Regions from separate parts of the Homo sapiens genome. Here region 1 is linked to region 2. Evidence: promoter capture Hi-C in human tissues and cell types (Jung and others, 2019). All regions are on one chromosome and are shown on one strand. The core of a region is centred on a gene start or on the middle of the fragment in contact, and the rest is flanking DNA. Distances in the headings are between cores, read along the strand shown.

Evidence for each region. The method cuts DNA at HindIII sites, captures the fragments that hold promoters and counts their contacts. A contact is called where the count stands out against the background at its distance.
Region 1: a contact is called between a fragment that was not itself captured here and the fragment with the promoter of SEMG2 in region 2, in 1 of the 25 tissues and cell types used here (aorta).

Annotation. Positions count from the first base shown.
Region 1 is chr20:44,968,844-44,974,396 of GRCh38, forward strand. STK4 (serine/threonine kinase 4) reads left to right here. Exons shown (of 11, transcript NM_006282.5): 2 at 3,235-3,315. Among named protein-coding and RNA genes, the nearest start is that of STK4, 5.1 kb to the left of the region's middle. The HindIII fragment of the contact is 4,792 bases long and covers 1-4,163 here.
Region 2 is chr20:45,219,628-45,225,035 of GRCh38, forward strand. It overlaps SEMG2 (semenogelin 2), which reads left to right and starts at 1,746. Exons shown (of 3, transcript NM_003008.3): 1 at 1,746-1,838; 2 at 2,082-3,798; 3 at 4,664-4,831. The coding sequence starts at 1,763. The coding sequence ends at 3,754. The HindIII fragment of the contact is 14,800 bases long and covers 1-4,052 here.

The sequences.
Region 1 (5,553 bases), core at 518-3,017, 250 kb before region 2:
TCAATTTTATTATCACGTGTATCAGTTTATCAGGACAAGACAAAGTGTCATGGAGTGGGTGGTTTAAGCAACGTAAATTTATTCTCTCACTGTTCTGAAGGCTAGAGATCTGAAATCAAGGCATTGTCAGAGTTGTTTCTTTTGACGCCTTTGCTTGACTCGTAGATGGCCATCTCCCTGTGTCTCCATGTTCTTCCTTCTGTACCTGTCAGTGTCCTAATCTCCTCTTATAAGGACACCAGTCATACTGGATTAGGGCATGCCCATATGACCTCATTTTATCTTAATTACCTCTTTAAAGGCCTTGTCTCCAAATACAGTCACATTCTTAGGTGGTGGGTATTAGGACTTCAGCATATGAATTGGGGTAAGCTGGGGACACAGTTTTATTATGTAAGATTTTGTCCATTTATCATGTATAGTTGTTGTAATCCATATCAAATTCTGTGTGGAAAAAGAAATAGTTACACATAAAATGAACTTTATGGGAGTTCTGAAATGGGAGAAAGCTTTGAGAATTAGCCAGACCTGTAAGTGACTACTTCATAGACACCATTACTTGTGTTTGGAAAGATACAGGTGTCTTTTCAGAAATTCAGATGGCATGTGTTTCCAATAACCCCAGTGCAGGAAATGCCCTTTGTGTTCGTGAGTTTGACATTTGTGTGTGTGTGTGATTAAGTGATGACAGATTGGTGTCTCATATAGGAGTTAATAATTTTAAAAAATGAGTTGCCATTAGATTAATGTTATAGTGGAAGGCGTAGAGTGCATTCCTGGGATGCTGGCCATCCACATGGCCATCTGACTTAGGAGAGGAGCATCCACCAGTATTTGGTCCATGGATGCTCTGTTGATCAGGCTTGTTCATTTATGAGCAAGTGCTGAAACCGTCTGGAACCTGGGGAAGTCCCAGATAAGAGAACTGTATTATCAGAGTCAGGCTGTTTTGGTAATAGTGTTTTTTCTGTGAAGAGTCATGGTATAAAATATTATTATGAATCACTTATCAAAATATTTTTATAGAAATGTTGATAATTCAGTAATACTTCTTAGGTGAAATTCTGTTTTATTGTGATAATTCAAAGATTGCTGATGAAATTCGTGATTCCCATCATTACATTTGTGAATCCATTTCACAAATATATTTTGACCACCTCTTGGTTATCAGGCACCAGAGATGTAATAGCGCCTTAAGTTCAAGTTGTTTTTAATAGCCCCGGATCAAAAACAAACAAAAAAGCACTTAGATTGTTTCAAAGATGTATTCGAGCCGTCATATGCTAAATGACGAGTTAATGGGTGCAGCACACCAGCATGGCACATGTATACATATGTAACTAACCTGCACATTGTGCACATGTACCCTAAAACTTAAAGTATAATAATAATTAAAAAAAAAGAAAAAAAAAGTTTGTCAAAGTATTATCAGAGGTTTGCAGCTGTCTATCTCAAGGCAGTGGCAATTTCCTTTGTTATGCTGTGGTCCCTGAAGTAGTTGAAATAGTGACTTTTGCATTTTGTAAACCACAGAGAGTCAACACTTCAAAGAAACATACTTGATCTTCCTTTGTATAAGCTGTTTATACAACTTTGATTATACTTGAGAAGTGAGGTATTGTCCAATGTTTATACAATTACAATTCAGGACTTTACCAAAAAAACCCTGGCATATGAGATGTTCGTTCTGACTTCTGAGTTTATAGAAGTTTCAGTTCTGAAGTTTAAGAGGAGTTTCACTTCATCCCTTTTCATTTTGAAGGTAGGAGTTTTTATGATGTCATTGGTATTTAATTTTTAGGACCTTTTGATTTTCAAAGGTCACTGTGATCATTTTGTTCTGTTGATATCAAGTTAAGGCAGTTTTGACTTGGAGCAGTTCTCCATTTCTCTAGTTTATAGTCCTTGATATTCATAAACTATAAGATTGTCCTTCTGAGATCAGTGTTTATTGGTAGATACACTTGATGTGGTCAGGGTTTTTGTTGGTTTGTTTTATTTTTTGTCTTCTAATTTTAATCTGTTTTATTTAGGAAGGTACACATTTGTGTGTGTGTGTGTGTGTGTGTATGTGTGTGTATTTAAGTCTTTTGTTGTAATAATTGATATTATCCAGCTAGTCTAAACCTTTTTTTTTCTACAAAGAGGTCTCCAGTGTGACTACTTCCATATTTCACCGTTTCCTCAGCTCTCTATTCTTTGTTGTTCTTTGTAGTTTCAGGAAGCCATTGTGTAGACTACACACACACACACACACACACACACACACACACACACACACATATTCCTTGGCAAGTTCCTTCTTTAAGCTCATTAGTAATTTTCAGAGATCTCAGAGTTTTAAAAAAATGTTAATTTATAACCTCCCATGTTTGTTATGATTGTCTAGCATAGTCAGAAATCTGAATTATCTGGAAATTGTGAGCAGCCAAGTACCTTTGATTTTTGGGACTAGTCAAAGGTATGTATCTACTCATAGGAAGGTCTTTGTGAGAATATCTGAAACTCACAGCTGCCTAGTGATTTTTCACTTTTGATCATATCTAAATGTACACTTTCCACTTTCTGTTTCTGTGATACCTACAGAATTTATGTGTTTTGACAAACTTACAAAAAACTTGCTAATGGAAGAGCAAAGGTTTCCCGTGTCTTCCTTAGTCTGCAGTCCAATTCATAGTTATGTTTCAATTCATAGTTACCTTACATTAAACACCTTTTCTGAAGAGATAATTACATCATTTTAATTCATGAAATCTCAAGATTTAAATAGATTTTGAAGGATACATCGAATGCTTGAATCTACAGCATTTCAGCCACATGACTTTTTTTTTTTTTTTTTTTTTTTTTGAGACAGTCTCTCTCTGTCACCCAAGCTTGAGCGTAGTGGCGCAATTTCGGTTCACTGCAAACTCTGCCTCCTGGGTTCACGCCATTCTTATGCTTCAGCGTCCTGAGTAGCTGGGATTACAGGCATGCGTTACCACGCCCAGCTAATTTTTTTGTATTTTTAGTGGAGACGGGGTTTCACCATGTTAGCCAGGATGGTCTCGATCTCCTGATCTCGTGATCTGCCTGTATCGGCCTCCCAAGAAACCTTGTTTCTTAAAACAGTCTTAACTAGTGAAGTCTGTATAGAGAAGTTCCTGAGATGCTAATTATAAAAAAAAGATATATTTTATGTTCTAGTTCCTAGCAAATAAAATGTATTTTGTGTTTATATTTCTTTATTCACAGGCAGCTGAAAAAGTTGGATGAAGATAGTTTAACCAAACAACCAGAAGAAGTATTTGATGTCTTAGAGAAACTTGGAGAAGGGTGAGTGTAAAGAAACTATAGGTAGGTCATTGGGTCCCAGTCTTTTTCCTGCCCCAGAAGAAGCAGAAGGATATGAACCTTTCAGCATTGTTCTAGGTGGGGTGGAAGGTAAATTTACAGCTTGTGATGTCCTTCTTCGCTTTACTCCAATCCCTATTATAGACAGATTTAGTGATTCCTGGTCTTTTTAACACGAAGAATATCTATTGTTTTCTCTTTTGTAGGATCTGTATGATTTTATCTACTTAACAGATAGCACTAATTAGATTAAAATTCTATAAGAAACTTTTTAATTTGCTGTTCATAATTTCTGATTGGTATGCAATAACTGTTTCAATGAAAATCAATGTAATTTAGTATTTTAATATTTGCACCTTTGTGAAATATAGTAAATAAATTAAGCACTATCACCACCTTCACAGCTACTTAGGAGATCCACAATCCTGGGTTGGGAGCCAGTGGATTTCCTGAAACACAGATTTGTTAATGCGTTTATAAAATACTGATGAAATGATATTAGTAATGTGCAGTGACCATCATTGACTTTCATGATACAATTAAGTTTACATAATTTTTATACTTTTATATATCATTTTAATTCAATCCTGTGTATTTATTCCTTCTTCTGTAATGACCAGGAAATTAAAATGTTAATGACACCATTTCTTAAGTTTTTCTTGTTAATTTTTGAATAGGCGATACAATCATATGATTCAAAATTTAAAAAAATATTAAGACGCATACAATAAAAAAAAAAAAAAACTGCCTCCTACCTCTCTCTGTCTCTTAGCCACCCAGAATCACCAAGGGTAGCGGCTTCTTGTGTGTCTTTCAGAGACAGGCTATGTGTGTGCGAGCGCACACTCGTGTTTGTGTGTGTGTGTGTCTGTATTTTTAATCCCTTGGGAGTATTTCTGGATCAAGGGAAGACCTGACATACTAACTTGTAAAAACAACTACTGACTGATGACTATATGCTCTTTAAAATAATTTCCTTTATGTCATTAGATTATTTTTTGGGTTTAGTATTTTTTATGTTAGGAGACAGATTTACAACGTTAAACCCAATCCTGGATTACATGAAATGGTTTTTTTATGATTTACCTCCTTGTAAAAAACATGAGTCATCGTCTTTTTGTAAGTTGGAAAAATACTCTTTGGAATCCAGCAAGAAATCAAGCAGAGAAGGGAAGTAAAAATGACACACCAGCTGTGCTGTGAAAAGACAAGTCCAAGATGAATCTGAAGACTGCCAGTTGACTGGCATCATTAAAGGTATGGGGAAATGACAGTCCCTCTACATCTGTTGCCTGCCATTTTCAGCTTTAGCTTGCCATCCTTGCTATTTTCCCTAAGGCAGCAAGGCTGTGACCTTTAATCTAACAATGCTCATAAGTTATACTTAGAATAAGTTCAAGACTGATAGGCATAATTGACTATGTAACTTATTTCTCTCATTTCTAATACAGTTTGCTCTTACTACTACAATGTGAGGCTGACCTGGGTTAAAATCCTTGCTCTACTGTTTACTGGTCATAATAGACAAGTGGGCTTAAGCAAATTGCTTACTATTTTGGAGGCTCACAATCCTCATCTGTAAAGTTGGGATAATAATATATCAATTCATAGAGTTGTGTTATTACCTGAGGTAATTGGGGTAAAGTATAGTGCTTATCACAATAATAAATGTTCAGTAAGTGGCAACTATTGCTATTCTATTTTAAATGTATCAACTGAAGCATTTTCAAGACCTCATCATGTCAAGTCTTAAAGTATTTTTAGGTGTTGTTATAGGTAGCTCTGAGCTGATTGGGTTTGTGGAATGTCAAAGGAAGACTATAGACAGAGAATATATCAGAAATATAATGTAAACAAAAAATAAGCTAATTATGATTTTTTAAATTGTATTTTATTTATTTGTTTGTTTATTTATTTTTGTAGAGACGAGGTCTCACTGTGTTGCCCAGGCTGGTCTTGAACTCTTGGCCTTAAGTGATCCTCCTGCCTCAGCCTCCCAAAGTGCTAGGATTAGAGACGTGAACCACTGCACCTGGACAAATTGCGTTTTAGATCTATGGATGTCTTCTGCAAGGAATGTGGAAATTTCCCTATGAAGATATCACCAGGGAGAAAACAAAGCTTCAGATCTTTCTTCCCATACTATCACCTTATTGTTCTTCTAAATAATACCAGATTTCTGGTATTTCTTGGATTTCTGTTATTCTGACTGAATGAACC
Region 2 (5,408 bases), core at 496-2,995:
CATAGCTCACATGCTTCAAGTTTGATGGCATAAGTAGCATTTTTTCCTATGGTTGGCCTTTCCCCTCTCCCCTTCCATATAGCATTGCTTACAGGAAGGTTAGGATTTTAAGAGAGAATAATAGAAAATAAGTTTCCAAGCCGTCCTTTCTCCAGAACTACCCTCCACAGTGTTCTGAATGCATACAGGGTCACTGTTCAAATGTTGCTGCTTCTCCTGTTGTCTTCTCATAACAAGGACTTTTTCAGTCAAAGTAAAGAAACTGGCCGGGTGCAGTGGCTCATGCCTGTAATCCCAGCAGTTTGGGAGGCTGAGGCGGGCGGATCACGAGGTCAGGAGATTGAGACCATCCTGGCTAACACGGTGAAACCCCGTCTCTACTAAAAATACAAAAAATTAGCCGGGCGTGGTGGCAGGCACCTGTAGTCCCAGCTACTTGGGAAGCTGAGGCAGGAGAATGGCATGAACCTGGGAGGCACAGCTTGCAGTGAGCCGAGATGGTGCCACTGCACTCCAGCCTGGGCGACAGAGCGAGACTCTGTCTCAAAAACAAACAAACAAAAAAAACAAAACAAACAAACAAACAAACAAAAAACCTTCCTTGGATTTTTCAAGAAGTTTTCACAATTGCAAAAAAACAAAACAAAACAACACAACACAACAAAACAAAACAAAAGCAAAAAAACCCTATGCTTCCACCCAAGGTAAAAATTTTAGCTTTAGGTCCACTCTCAATACATTATTTAATGAACTGAAGTTGGCAAATATTCCTCACAGCCTGTTGGAGGGTTCAGCAGTTTATTACAGAAGTATGAAATGCTTTTATTTAAAAAATGTATTTTGGTAAATACATTTTTGTTTAGGTAAATATCATCAAATAATCCAATTTGGAAACCAACATTCTTACTTCTTTTTCCAACAGTTGTTCCTATCATCATAAAAACATGTTAAATTTTTCTCATCCTTTCAAAAAATCTCTGGAGCTTACCTCACCCTCCAGATACAGCCTCACCTCTCATTCCACCATGAAATCAGACTTCTTGAGATGGTTTCAGCTGGACTCCATCCTTCAACTGACAACCCAACACAACTGTATTCATCTCTCGTTAACATTACTAGCAGTGAGTAACATCAGAAAGTTTTTGACACATGTTAGTCTTTTTTGTGATGAACTTCACAGATACATTTGACATTGGTATGCCTCATTTATTTGTTGAAATTTTTTTCTTTGGCTTCCATGAAGTTTCTTTCTCTTCTGTATCATTCTACTTCTATGACTGCTCCTTCTCGAGTAAAACAGAATGTGTCTCAGGATTACTTTAAAACAAGACAAAGTATAGAGTTATACCTAAAATTTAGTATTTAAGTTATTGGATCAGAAAGGAAACTCGCATTTAGAGTATGAAGGCATTGTCAGCCACCAATTACTTTTGTAACCTGAAGCTAGTCTCCTTCCTACTCCGGACTGAATTTCTTCTGTATAATGCAAGCGATCTGGCATGATGATATACAAAGACCGATAAAATTTTGCTGGGGATTCTGAAAGTAAAAAAAATTGCCTTTGATATTATGTCCCCATGCTAAGTCCCTGGGGACTTTGACATTATCCCCCACTGAGCAGGGGTGAGGAAGCTGGCATTTACTAATAAGCTATGAAAGGGCAGTGCCTTTTGACATTTCAGCTCCACCCATAGCACACCCACTCAAGGAACATATAAATGAAGAGATCCGCTCAGTTCTCAGACAAGATTTTTCAAGCAAGATGAAGTCCATCATCCTCTTTGTCCTTTCCCTGCTCCTTATCTTGGAGAAGCAAGCAGCTGTGATGGGACAAAAAGGTGAGTGGAGAGGGTAAGCCTTGGGGAAAGCTACTTTAAAAAAATGGCCTCTAAGGATATTCAGGGTGCAAACAGTAACCTGTTCAGGCACAGATTCTTCTCCTTGATGAGAATTGATTTTTCTCCACCCAACGCTGTAGGCTTTTGGAAATATCAGAAATTTGTTGGGAAAAGGTGGGAGGTAAGAGTTGCAAGAGAGCTTTGGAGATAATGAATGCATACATTTCTATTATCAATTACCAGGTGGATCAAAAGGCCAATTGCCAAGCGGATCTTCCCAATTTCCACATGGACAAAAGGGCCAGCACTATTTTGGACAAAAAGACCAACAACATACTAAATCCAAAGGCAGTTTTTCTATTCAACACACATATCATGTAGACATCAATGATCATGACTGGACCCGAAAAAGTCAGCAATATGATTTGAATGCCCTACATAAGGCGACAAAATCAAAACAACACCTAGGTGGAAGTCAACAACTGCTCAATTATAAACAAGAAGGCAGAGACCATGATAAATCAAAAGGTCATTTTCACATGATAGTTATACATCATAAAGGAGGCCAAGCTCATCATGGGACACAAAATCCTTCTCAAGATCAGGGGAATAGCCCATCTGGAAAGGGATTATCCAGTCAATGTTCAAACACAGAAAAAAGGCTATGGGTTCATGGACTAAGTAAAGAACAAGCTTCAGCCTCTGGTGCACAAAAAGGTAGAACACAAGGTGGATCCCAAAGCAGTTATGTTCTCCAAACTGAAGAACTAGTAGTTAACAAACAACAACGTGAGACTAAAAATTCTCATCAAAATAAAGGGCATTACCAAAATGTGGTTGACGTGAGAGAGGAACATTCAAGTAAACTACAAACTTCACTCCATCCTGCACATCAAGACAGACTCCAACATGGACCCAAAGACATTTTTACTACCCAAGATGAGCTCCTAGTATATAACAAGAATCAACACCAGACAAAAAATCTCAGTCAAGATCAAGAGCATGGCCGGAAGGCACATAAAATATCATACCCGTCTTCACGTACAGAAGAAAGACAACTTCACCATGGAGAAAAGAGTGTACAGAAAGATGTATCCAAAGGCAGCATTTCTATCCAAACTGAAGAGAAAATACATGGCAAGTCTCAAAACCAGGTAACAATTCATAGTCAAGATCAAGAGCATGGCCATAAGGAAAATAAAATATCATACCAATCTTCAAGTACAGAAGAAAGACATCTCAACTGTGGAGAAAAGGGCATCCAGAAAGGTGTATCCAAAGGCAGTATTTCGATCCAAACTGAAGAGCAAATACATGGCAAGTCTCAAAACCAGGTAAGAATTCCTAGTCAAGCTCAAGAGTATGGCCATAAGGAAAATAAAATATCATACCAATCTTCGAGTACAGAAGAAAGACGTCTCAACAGTGGAGAAAAGGATGTACAGAAAGGTGTATCCAAAGGCAGTATTTCTATCCAAACTGAAGAGAAAATACATGGCAAGTCTCAAAACCAGGTAACAATTCCTAGTCAAGATCAAGAGCATGGCCATAAGGAAAATAAAATGTCATACCAATCTTCAAGTACAGAAGAAAGACGACTCAACTATGGAGGAAAGAGCACGCAGAAAGATGTATCCCAAAGCAGTATTTCTTTCCAAATTGAAAAGCTAGTAGAAGGCAAGTCTCAAATCCAGACACCAAATCCTAATCAAGATCAATGGTCTGGCCAAAATGCAAAAGGAAAGTCTGGTCAATCTGCAGATAGCAAACAAGACCTACTCAGTCATGAACAAAAAGGCAGATACAAACAGGAATCCAGTGAGTCACATAATATTGTAATTACTGAGCATGAGGTTGCCCAAGATGATCATTTGACACAACAATATAATGAAGACAGAAATCCAATATCTACATAGCCCTGTTGCTTAGCAACCACTTGAAAAGCTGGACCAATAGCAAGGTAAGTTTGCTTTTCTTACCAAATAGGAGAGGTGCCTGTCCCAAAGTTGGGGACTCTCCAGGAACATGGTAGGACTGATAACCATTGTTCACATCAATAGAAGTGCTATATTACAAGTGGTGGGAAGATGAACACCATTTCCTGGCGAGTAGAGGACCTGGTAGTGGCAGGGAAGGCTGCTTGGACTATCACTGGGTCCTAGAATTCCTATTCTTAATTGAGTATTCTTCAATAATATTTTTATACATGCCTACCTGCTAAAGATTTTTTTGAACATGCACTGACTATATATGCATATTTATGAGTTTATGGTATACTCTTGTCAATTCTTATACTTTAGATTAGTAAACCTCAAATTCTTTCTCATATAGTATGAAATATTACAGCAGTTAATATTTTCTTTCTGCACATACATGAATGTTCTTGCATCCCTGTTAGAGTTCATCTATGCTCCTTCAGAGACCACAAGCCCAAAGACTAGCAGTCCACTCTCTCTGAATATAGGAAAGATATGAGTAGAAAGAAGGATTCCTGTTCAGATTGTGAAAAAGGAAGTGGAAATGGAGGTGCAGGAGATGCTGAGAGATCTCAGGTGCTAACTGGACACTTGCAATGTCAGGAGAGGAAAATTTTAACCTGGATTGGGGAAATGGTTCTTCCATGCCCCTTTGCAATAAGTAACACTGTACCTGAAGAGAGGGTAAGCAGCAGAAACAATGGTCCCAGCTGATAACTAGTGACCTGGTGTCCTAATGATCAGGGGGCTGGTGCAGTTGACGCTAAAGGGGACAGGGGTCCCAGCTCTCCCATCCTCACCCCCACTCTCCACTATCCTCACATATCTGGTTGTCTTTTTTCTCCCTAGGTGTCACCCGACCTCAGTGAAGTCTTTGATGTTTCTGAGAGGCAGACTCCCATGTGGTCCCAGATCCTTGGTCCATGGATGACACCACCTTCCCATGCTTCCTTGCATTAGGCTTTCTAAACCCGGAGCCCCTTCAAACTTCCAATAAAGGGATCATTTTCTGCTTTATCTGCTTTTGGCTCCAGTGATCTCTGAATTCCTAGTGGCTCAAGGGGCTGAGGTCATTTCTGATAAAAATGGTTTTGGAAGAAAAGAATGGGATATTTTTTAAGCATTAGGGAGAATAGCAATCAAAGCCACATTTCTAGATGTATTGATAGAAATCCAACACTAAAAACAAGATGCTATTACTCTGCCAGGCACACATCTACTTCCTGATGCCAACCCTAAAGTCTCTCGTGACCTCTGTACTAACAGGACCCCAGGATCTAACAGTCCCCCAGAAAGAACAGAGAAAATGTATTGCAACAAGCCCTAGGAAAGTCCCTGATCTACTAGTGCCATGAGTATTCCCCAAGTCCACAGCAGCATATCTCTTCACTTAGCTTAAGAACTGTCCTACTCCTACAGCATACATTTAGATGCAATCACACCAAAGAGTGATATGTCAAGTCTCCACCACTTCAGCAAGAGTGAGTGGATTTAAAAATGTTATCTGTGATGGAAAGACCAGACGACCAGGCCAGAGTCTTGGGGCAGGTGGTGTGTTAATAATAGAAATTCTACTCCTTTTATGCCCTTTCAC